Regions from separate parts of the Homo sapiens genome. Here regions 1 and 2 are each linked to region 3. The links are contacts of gene promoters, found by promoter capture Hi-C in blood cells and fetal thymus (Javierre and others, 2016). All regions are on one chromosome and are shown on one strand. Each heading gives the region's core, a stretch centred on a gene start or on the middle of the fragment in contact. The rest is flanking DNA. Distances are from core to core; before and after follow the strand shown. Region 1 overlaps ARID4A (AT-rich interaction domain 4A). Region 2 holds the start of TIMM9 (translocase of inner mitochondrial membrane 9). Region 3 holds the start of FKBP3 (FKBP prolyl isomerase 3).

Region 1 (3,702 bases), core at 422-2,921, about 13 Mb before region 3:
CTTGTTTTATTTTTAATAATCTGACATAATTTCTGGTATCTCATGAAACCAAAAAAGGTAACACACGTCATAAACACTCTGAATAATTTTCTGACTATACCCATGTAATACTTTGCTAGGAACTAGAAATCAAAAAAAATTCCAGAAAAGAGCAATTACACCTAATAGGTAGGTAGTAGGTACTCACTGAAAGAAAAATACAGGATGTTCATGACCCAAGAGGTTTTACATTTCATTGTACTGTTTTTTTTAAACCAACTGGTAACTCAGGTCATTATACTCTGATCATTCTTTATGTGATCCACTTCCTTCAATATCTAAACGTTCTTTAGAGCAGTGCTATCTTGAGTTTTCTGAATGGAACAGTGCCTTTCAAAATCTTTTTATGAATTTCCTTCATGCACGTAAGTGCAAAAATCTTTAATATTTTGAATTTTTCTCCCAAATAAATCTGTTTTTCCCTGTTTTTATAAGTGTGAACTACCTGCATCAGAATCACTGACATGCTTATTAAAACATTCTTGTACTGCCATCCCCAGGCCTACTAATTGGAGAGGCTTGGGGTCCTCAAATCCTCATTTTTCTAAGCAAGCACCAAGTGATTCTTATGTCCACTAATGCTTGATACCTCAATTATATGCAATTAAGATTCTAAAGCTCTTTGAGAACAAGAATTATACAATTTCTTCTGTAATTATCCAACACAGAAAATCACCATAGAGAATGCTTAGCAGTGACTAGTTTTTAGAAACACTAAAACGCTACTCATGTAGAGGACAAAGGTTGCTATTCATAATTGAATAACTACTCTGGGATAAAGAAACCCAAAATGAGAAAACCTGAAAAGTAATCCTTCTATAGAGCATGCGCATTTTATCAGTAAAGCTTCAAAGTGAGTACAACCTTTATAGTGAGTTAAAATATAAGGTGCAATATAAATATCTGAATATGCATCATATATTTTCCGGTGATTCTACACACACCTGTAATTTTTATCAGGTCTTAGTTTGATAAAGCAAAGATGTATTTACTTAATCTCTAAGAGTTAACATTAAGCTTAGTTTTTATTTGTTTTGAGACGCAGTTTTGCTCTTGTTGCCCAGGCTGGAGTGCAATGGCACAATCTAGGCTTACTGCAACCTCCGCCTCCCAGATTCAAGCGATTCTCCTGCCTCAGCCTACTGAGTAGCTGGGATTACAGACGCCCACCACCACACCCAGCTAATTTTTGTATTTTTAGTAGAGACAAGGTTTCGCCATGTTGGCCAGGCTGGTCTTGAACTCTTGACCTCAGGTGATCCGCCCACCTCGCCCCCCTAAAGTGCTGGGATTACAGGTTAGAGCCACTGCATCTGGCCACTTAGTTTTTAAAATTTAACAACTATCAGTAGCCACAACTAAGCTTCCTAAAAATATGTAGTTCAGAATAATAGCACCACTGTGAACCAACACTAAATTCTAGTAAGTCCAAGAAGCATCAAAGAGGTTTGAAAAAAGTACTTACACACAGCAAATTGGTACTACTAATAGAAGGTACAGGGTAAGACAGAGAAATTTTTAACCAAAGCATAGTTCTTCACAACACTGAGCATCAACTGGATGTGAATGATTTTTACCCAAAGCAACAAATCAAGTAAACTAAAAGTAAACCTAAATGGTCATTCTTTTATTTCTACAAGAAAACCACAAAATAATTATACCACTTAAACCAAGAAATAAGTATAAAAACCAACAATGCTATAGATTGGATGTTATCCACAGGATTGTGCAGTTTGAAAGTACTGAGAGGAGATTTGGAAATGTTACTTAATGCTATTCTCATCAACATAATGACAGCAACTATTTAAGTACTACTTTAAGGTTTTAACTTACAAGTATTATGACACTTGTTGCTTCTCACTATTAATACAATAAAGTTATCTAAAGCCAGTATAAGCTTATGCATGGAATGTTAAGAATGCATTCATGCATTCATATTAGGAGCATCTATATTTTTCTTAAAAGCTGTTTTCTTTTTGAGACCAAATCTCACTCTGTCGCCCAGGCTGGAGTGCAGTGGCATGATCTGGGCTCATTGCAACCTCCGCCTCCCAGGTTCAAGCGATTCTCCTGCCTCAGCCTCCAGAGTAGCTGGGATTACAGGCATGCACCACTAATACCAGGCTAATTTGTGTATTTTCAGTAGAGACGGGGTTTCACCATGTTGGCCAGGCTGGTCTCGAACTTCTGACCTCAAGTGATCCACCCGCCTCAGCTTTCCAAAATGCTAGGATTACAGGCATGAGCCAACATGCCCGACCTTGAAAGCTGTTAATATGAGCACCCACACTGTATCAAAAATCAAAAACTAAGTTAACAATCACCTATTCTTGAATCTACCATGGTCAGGATTTTTTAAATCTGTAAATTGTCTGGCAACATCTACATTACCCTTGTATAAAATATGTAGCAATACAGTAACGATCGCAACTATGCAATTTTAATTGTAATTATAGAAAAAGTGATCACAATCATGTGATCTAACTTTCTTGAAAAGAAACATCAAAGTAACCTAAAATAGAAGTACATTTTTGGATGAAATAGACAAAAGTGGCCAACTTACTGTAAGAGATAATTATTTTTGTTACCTACAGGGCATTCTTAGAATTTTAGTCAGCTATATCCAGTAAACTGACAGGAAATAATATATATTTCTCCACCAACACAATGATTCAGTGTATCCACAAAACACAGATACATGCAACCTCCAAATCAAATCTGTGTTAAATTACTTAATTACTTACCCACGGTATACCAACTAGCATCTGTCAACTTGCTGATAATAGCTTCCTGAAAAGATCCATCAGATGTCCTTGTTTCAACAATAGCTCCAACCTAAAATGTGAAATCCCAATTTCCTTACCAAATTTAAACAAATAAACCAAATCACTCCCACCAACTATATAATCTAGCTAAGAAAAATAAACACCATACTTATGATAATTCTATCTTACACTGTCTGAGATCTTTATCATTCATAGTACTTATCTATTTATTATGCAATTTGAGCTCCAAAACACTTTGACAAAAGTTAGGTAGCTATTATTACCCCTACTTTACACACTGAAAATTGCCGTTCAGAAAGAGAAAATAATATGCAGAGTCCAGCATGACAGCCCAGTCTCTTAAATCTTACTTTAGAGCTTTTCCACTATATCACATTGCCTTCAAGAAAATTAAATCGAAGAACTGTAAAATTATAAGACAACCAAAATAGCATCCATTTTCTTTCACAGAAATAGTGAATATTGGATTCAGCATTTGTATTTAAGGTACCTTTTAGATAAAGGTTCACCTGGAGAGATAGGGATGGACCAGTTGACCTTCTTTCAGTTTCCAGACCTTTGTATATCAGATATTAACCAAAGTGGTACTCTGATATAACAGATTTATTACATAAACAAATGGCCAGAAATGCATGGAAAACATAATCTAGGTATTCATTAAATTGAATTAGGAAGTGAACATAGTTTACTTGGTAAATTAGAACAACCAAAGATTGATGGTTATGATACTCAACTTAGAAGGCTAAACATCACCTCAGATACAGCAACAATGTGAAAAACAAAGCCAGGTATCCAGTTCAAGAATTCAAAACAGAAAGGTAGGTGAAAAACTTAACATGTTTATATATATTAAATTACCCTTCTAGAAGATGTTTAG
Region 2 (3,271 bases), core at 66-2,565, about 13 Mb before region 3:
GTCCTGCTTTTCCCACTATGAAAAGAAAGTAGTGAATTAGGTAAAAAGCACTACTTTGGGGGAAAACTATAAAAAACACTACGTGGGGGAAAATAAAGCACATTATACAAGTTAAGTGTATCCACCATAAATATAAAAAAAAAAATATGCAAAAGTCAATGCAAAAAAAAAAAAAAAAAGCACAACAGGGGACGTTAAAGTTTCATTCATTCCATCTATTCAAACATTTTATAGGCTTCCTGGCCATTTTCCCGGGAAACAGGGTCAGTTTTCAAACATCTGTACAAACTAGACTTATATCTTACGTTTGGGAATTTAAACAAATAAGGACTAAAGATTTACTAAACTAAAACTGGTTGAAAAACTACATGGAATCACATACCACGTGATGTTCCATTCAAACTAGTCCCCGTTCCAACAGGAAGACGTTTATTTGCAGACAATGCCGGAGGAACACAGGGCAACTCATCTTTCAGCAAAACCAAATGATCTCCATGATTTTGAGAAACTACCTCACGAAGTCTCTTCACTGGCATCTTAATCTTTTTTTTCTTCTCCAAGCTGACCTCAGAGCCTTTCATATTGTTGGTCACAAAACAAGTCCCACACTTAAGGACGGAAAAACTTTCTCTGTTTCCTTAAGACTTCAGAACAAAATTTTCACCTCTTTGCAATAACTGTTTTTAAAATGTCGAACATCCACAAAGCTGAAAATCTAAATTCTGATATTGAATCCAGGATTAGAGCTGACTATAAAGTCATATTTACCCATTAATCCCACTCAGTCTATTAATACACCACGCCAAAATGTGAAAGTGGGGATGACAAGAGAATGGCCACAGGAGCAACAATAACCATAACAGTGCACTCCCCAACCCCAGAGCTGGTAGGGCAAAACCAAACACATGTAGTGGCGGGCTTAAAATTTGTTGAGAAGAGGCAGTCAAGCAAATAAAAGCGAAATGCTATTTTTAAAATAATGACCCACATAAGAAGCGTAATAGCTTTCTTCAGCCACAGAGTCTTACACACCCCTCCAGATGCAATCGTCGGAAACATAAATTCACCCCTACGTATCTCCAGAACGCCCGAGACCCGCACCGTCGTGGGTGTAATCTGACAACAGCGTCAGTTGCCCGCAGGTCAACACCCACTTCCCTTCAAACCCGCCCTTGAGACACAACACGCATGCGCGCCAAGAAACTCACCCAAAACATCCAACCAGAAAGCTAAGCGCTCTCTGGTGCTCTTCCATTCCTCTCCGGGTGGAAACAAACTCCGGACATAACAGGGGTTTATTTATTTATTTATTTTAAGGTAGCACATTGCCGCACAAGACCGCTCTACAGTCTCATCCAAGACTTGAAGAGCTCCCGACTTGTAATACTACTTGTGTTTACCAGGGACTGTTGACACTGCTTCGCTTCCGAAGACCGTTAGGGACGTGGGATTAGGTAAATTAGGCTTCCAAGAAGTTTCGACAGATTCGGGTCATTATTGGAGAGGAAGTCGGGAATAGAAAGCGTTGTCTAAGCAGAAAATAACCGAAGTTAATCCTTAGGAGATTTTAGAATTCGCTGATGGTACCTGCTTTTTCTTCTAGATTTCCTCGCGTTATAACGAATCGGCGTCTAAGGGTTTAAGTGTCACTTGACATTACTGCTCCCACGTGTTCTTTCCCATCTGGCGGCCGCGGCTCCTGTCCAGACCCTGACCCTCCCTCCCAAGGCTCAACCGTCCCCCAACAACCCCCAGCCTTGTACTGATGTCGGATGCGAGAGCCTGTGCTTAAGTATGGTGTCTGTTCTCTGCCGTGAGAATCCGGGGTTCCCGGACGGGGGGTGGCAGGCTACGCTCCAGGAAAGTGGCGGGGTCTCCCGAGGAGGCCGCCGCACGTACCTGGAGCAGTGGGGGGTGCGAAGCGGGACAGCGCTTCGCCGGGTCGGGTGCAGACCTTCCTGGAGATGGTGTCACCTGGGCGAGGGTAGGAACTTTAGGCCCTGAGCCACCCCCAACCCGGATCTGGGGAGTCGGGGTCCTGTTTTGGGACACTGAATTAGACTATAAGGTATTTACGATGTGACCTTGAGCTGCCCGGGGGAAGATCCTCCTTTAAATGAAAATCGTCTTTAGACATAATACCAGGTCTAACACCCCTTCCCTGATCTGCTCATTTCCCAGGATGCGCTACTTAGAGCTTTCCCTTTACGCCTTACTGGAGGCTTTAGAATAATCAAAGCAGAAAATGTAATCCGATCTAAAAGCTAAATAACTAATTTTATTTCTTTTACATCTCGGCAGTCTACCTTCATAGAAGTCTAGACTTAAAATGGACTTTAAAGTCTGAGCGCGGTGGCTCACGCCTGTAATCCCAGCACTTTGGGAGGCCAAGGCGGGCGGATCACGAGATCAGGAGTTCGAGACCAGCCTGGCCAGCAAGGTGAAACCCCGCCTCTACTGAAAATACAAAAAATTAACTGGGCATGGTGGCGCGCGCCTGTAGTCCCAGCTACTCAGGAGGCTGAGGCAAGAGAATTGCTTGAACCCGGCAGGTGGAGGTTGCAGTGAGCTGAGATCGCGCCATTGTGCTCCAGCCTGAGTGACAGATCAAGACTGTCTTAAAAAAAAAAGAAAAAAAAAGACTTTAAGGGCTCAGCGTTAAAGACCCTTTTAATTATTATTTTTTTGTAACTTGCTGAGTTTCTCTAATGAGTTTTGTGTTGTTTTTTGAGACAAAGTCTCACTCTGTGGCACAGGCTGGAGTGCAGTGGCGCGATCTTGGCTCACTGCAACCTCCGCCTCCCAGGTTCAAGCGATTCTTCTGCCTCAGGCCTCCTGAGTAGCTGGATTACAGGCGCCCGCCACCACGCCCAGCTAATTTTTTTTGTATTTTTATTAGAGACGGGGTTTCACCATGTTGGCCAGGTTGGTCTCGAACTCCTGACTTGATTCACCCGCCTCGGCCTACCAAAGTGCTAGTATTACAAGCGTGAGCCACCGCACGTGGCCATTATTTTTTATTTTAGTTACATTTTCTCTTCGTAATTGGGCTCATAGGTGGTACTTGTTTGTTCACAATTTATTGTATATTATGAGTGTACTGAAAGAACTACAATGTCAGAGTCGCCAGAGACCTTGGAGATAGTTTAACTCTTACCTTCTAGGTGAAACTTATGTGAAAGAAACAGTGACCTAAGATCTGAGTGTAGGCACTCTGAATTATTAAAATGACAACTTAATTTGGATCTTACAGCTCTTTGTCATTACTCTT
Region 3 (3,505 bases), core at 665-3,164:
GGCAATAAAGGTCTTTCCCAGTCCGGTAGGCAGACACACCAGCGTATTGCAAAACAGAGCAGCCCGGGAAATGTGCAGCTGGTAGTCCCGCACTGGGCAATTGGTAGGGTAAATCCACAGGGCGCCCGCGGAGGTGCAGAACCCGCCATTCTCTAGACACAACTGCCGCTCAGCCTCGTACGCCGCGACAAGCAACACATCATCGTCCGACTCCAGCTGAGCCTCCGCTGCTGCTGGCAAAGGCGCCTTGGAGCTGCCAGGGCTCTGAGGTCGCTCAGTTCCGGAGCTGCAACCCGGAGTCCCAGATGATCGGGAGATACTTGAGCCCCACGTCTGAAAAAGCGTTCTTTGCCGTCCGCTCATTAGGCCGACAACCACCGAAGGCTTCTGTCAGATATCCGTAGCAGCAGCAGCTCAACCGCTACGGTTCCGATCCCCATCGGTTTCCTTCGCACAAAACTCTGGAACGAGAAGGCGGGACTAAGGCCAGTTTATCCAGTTGAAAATGCCGCTACTGAGTTTCCGTTGGGAATGATTGGCTGGCTTCCCGGAAACCTTCACAGCCCTGCCGGAGACTCATGCGCATTATTAAGGCGTTACTCTAAATATGGTCCCCGGTGCGGTTCCGGTGTTTTGTTTTAACAAACTCTAAATTTAAGTTCCGTTTCCAATGATTAGATGGCTGGGCGTCATTGCTAACGTGATAAATCACTTAAAATGTTATAATAGAGATTTATTGTAAAATATTACATACCCGGGGACAATGGAATAGCCACCAGTTTGGGAACTTAATGTTATTGAGCGTCTAACGTGCCTCATTCCTTGTACTTTTAAATCAGAATATAAAGTGAAAAGCAAAAATGTGTAGATGGAATAATTTGTCTTATATCTCTATCTGGGCTGAGAAAACAAAATGCCAAGTCTCTTTTTCACCGCGCTGGGAGTGGCAACCCATTATTTTAATATTTTCATTGTTTAAAGGGAAGTGAACGTGGTCTGGTCCAGCTATTCGTCAGAATTTTTTTTTTTAATGCTCCTTGCAAAGCAGAGCTAACTCATAGGCAACATGCCCAGAGTCAGCCTACATTTTTTTAAGTAAGGAGTCCTGATGTTCAACTATTAAATCTTTATTATAGGTAAGAGCATTATAATAAACGTCGGTGTGCAATTATTCCACTCTAACGAAGATTTCTGTCTCAAATAATTCCTGACTTCTCTCTAAACCTGACTTTGAGTAACCTCTGTAAATTTGTTTCCTCGTGTACTGAGAAAAAAATATACATCACAGAGTTACGAGCATTAATAATGTCATTCTCATCAGCAAGTGGCATCCTGAGTGCGGCTTCTTTATAAATTGTTTTATTTGTTAAAGTTTCTGAACTTCGTTTTGGACAAACTTTCTCGTATTTGTATGGGGGGAAGGGGATGGGCAGTTTGTATTTAAGTTTCGGTTGTGTGATCTTTAAAAGGGAAATGGTGGGATATGGGTTTTCGGATCGACAAGGACTGAAGCACTTCAGGTGTGACTTTTTAGGCTAGAACTAGATAAAACGAGATAAGGAGCCTGAATGCTGTTTTCTTTTAACAGGTTATAGACTGGACTTTAAAGGCATAGCTGCCTTAAATGTGGGTAATGGTTGATAAATGTCGCTACCATCAGAGGTCGCTTCACAAGGTGTCTAATTCAGAATCGAAGATCTCTAGCGGTCTTCTACTCAGTCGACTGCAGAGACGACCGCGGTAGGTTTTTCAACCCGGACTCAACAAAGAAGCCCTCATAGCACAGCCTTGACGTCACTCAAAGACAGGCCCCAATCCCGACTGCTAGAGCAGAGGCCCGCCCCTCGACCTCCGTGAGTGGCCCCGCCCCGCCCTAGGGGGCGGGGCGATGCCGAACTGCGGCGGGCTGGCTCAGTAAAGCGGAGGCAGCGGGGGAAGATGGCGGCGGCCGTTCCACAGCGGGCGTGGACCGTGGAGCAGCTGCGCAGTGAGCAGCTGCCCAAGAAGGACATTATCAAGTTTCTGCAGGAACACGGTTCAGATTCGGTACCAGAGGCGTAGGGGCGGCCGGGCTGGTGCGGCTGAGGGACGCCTCACCCCCCTGGAGATGCCCATACATTCCGTATTCCTCTGTGCCCCCGCCCTCGTCTTCCCGCGGCCGGTGGCCTGGAAGGCCGGAGAGGCCCAGCTTGTGCTTTGGTGCCTCGCTCCCGCCTCTCGGGCGTTCTCTACTGGGGCAGGGGAGCAGCTTTATTTCTTGGGGCACACAGGCTGCAATTGTAGAGTTAGAACCTCATTGGGATCCTTGAGTGGGGGTGGAGGCCAGAAAAATAGGAACCCGAGGATATTGGGGGCTAGGGCGGAGAGGCCGAGGAATAGTGGTGTGGATGAGACTCCTGGGAGCGGGGCGCCGGCTACTAGGGAAATGGGAAGGGATGTGAAGATTTCTGTGGGAACGGTGTATCCAACTTGCTTTTCTCAACAGTTTACTAAATACTGAACATTAATGCGTGTGATTTTTAAAAAATCCGTAGGTTGTGGTTTAAGTTTTGATTTAACATATCGACCCTTTAAATGACCTTTTCACCTTTATACTTTAAGGGAGCTACATGCACATTTCTCTTGTGCAGTGGTCTGTCATTGTTATAAACAGACTAAGAAATTTATTTGAAATGCTTTATACTGTAGGCTCTCCATTTGTCAGCATAGTCTCCATCTTAACCATCCGTCTATAGTCAAGTTATTTTTGTTACACTTGTTTTTCCTTTGGAAAATAAGTTCATTCATGCACCTGTTAAATTGCTGAAATAGTTGTGCACGCAGCATTCTCTTACAAGCGGCAGCCTGCTTGTGTTTTCTATACAATTTTTAAAATTCTAAACTTTTCATTTAGAAAAACTGTTTCTGGGTTTTTTTGTTTGTTTGTTTGAGACGGAGTCTCTCTCTGTTGCCCAGGCTGGAGTGCAGTGGCGCGATCTCGGCTCACTGCAACCTCCGCCTCCCGGGTTCAAACGATTCTCCTGCCTCTGCCTCTCGAGTAGCTAGGACTACAGGCGCGTGCCACCACGCCAGGTTAATTTTTTGTATTTTTAATAGAGACGGGATTTCACCGTGTTAGTCAGGATGGTCTCGATCTCCTGACCTCGTGATCCGCCCGCCTCGGCCTCCCAAAGTGCTGGGATTACAGGCGTGAGCCACTATTTCTGGGTTATTTTGAGAAGCTTATATTTTATTTTCATTTTGGGCGGGCGTCATGACAGGGAGATAGAAGAACTCTCCAACTTCCAGTGCCTTCTTCCTTAATTATTATCCTGGCATCCGCATCTTAGATTAATTTAGCAGATATTAATACAACATCTGTAACAAGAACTATTCTCAGTGTTTGGAGGTACAAGGGTGAAAAAGAACATGTGTCGGGGATCTTACCCCATTTTAATGGAACTATTTTCTCTTAAGCCAATTCGTATTTCATCTGAAACAATAGAATAGACATCATTAACATTTA

Evidence for each region. Contacts are between HindIII fragments. The CHiCAGO score rates a contact against its expected background, and 5 or more counts as called.
Region 1: a contact is called between a fragment that was not itself captured here and the fragment with the promoter of FKBP3 in region 3, in 1 of 17 cell types (total B cells). The highest score is 10.1, in total B cells.
Region 2: a contact is called between the fragment with the promoter of TIMM9 here and the fragment with the promoter of FKBP3 in region 3, in 2 of 17 cell types (naive CD8 T cells and total CD4 T cells). The highest score is 7.6, in naive CD8 T cells.

The regions. Positions count from the first base shown.
Region 1 is chr14:58,305,194-58,308,895 of GRCh38, reverse strand. It overlaps ARID4A (AT-rich interaction domain 4A), which reads right to left. Exons shown (of 24, transcript NM_002892.4): 5 at 2,784-2,874. Among named protein-coding and RNA genes, the nearest start is that of ARID4A, 8.5 kb to the right of the region's middle. The HindIII fragment of the contact is 534 bases long and covers 1,405-1,938 here.
Region 2 is chr14:58,425,575-58,428,845 of GRCh38, reverse strand. It overlaps TIMM9 (translocase of inner mitochondrial membrane 9), which reads left to right and starts at 1,315. Exons shown (of 6, transcript NM_012460.4): 1 at 1,315-1,454; 2 at 1,604-1,792. KIAA0586 reads right to left here and starts at 1,127. Exons shown (of 31, transcript NM_001329943.3): 1 at 383-1,127. The coding sequence starts at 581. RefSeq lists enhancers at 856-1,045, 1,116-1,165, 2,180-3,123. The HindIII fragment of the contact is 11,466 bases long and covers 1-3,271 here.
Region 3 is chr14:45,132,890-45,136,394 of GRCh38, reverse strand. It overlaps FKBP3 (FKBP prolyl isomerase 3), which reads left to right and starts at 1,914. Exons shown (of 7, transcript NM_002013.4): 1 at 1,914-2,046. The coding sequence starts at 1,939. FANCM (FA complementation group M) reads right to left here and starts at 465. Exons shown (of 23, transcript NM_020937.4): 1 at 1-465. The coding sequence starts at 363. RefSeq lists enhancers at 262-311, 974-1,844, 1,938-2,157, 1,845-2,716 and a silencer at 1,791-1,968. The HindIII fragment of the contact is 3,907 bases long and covers 1-3,223 here.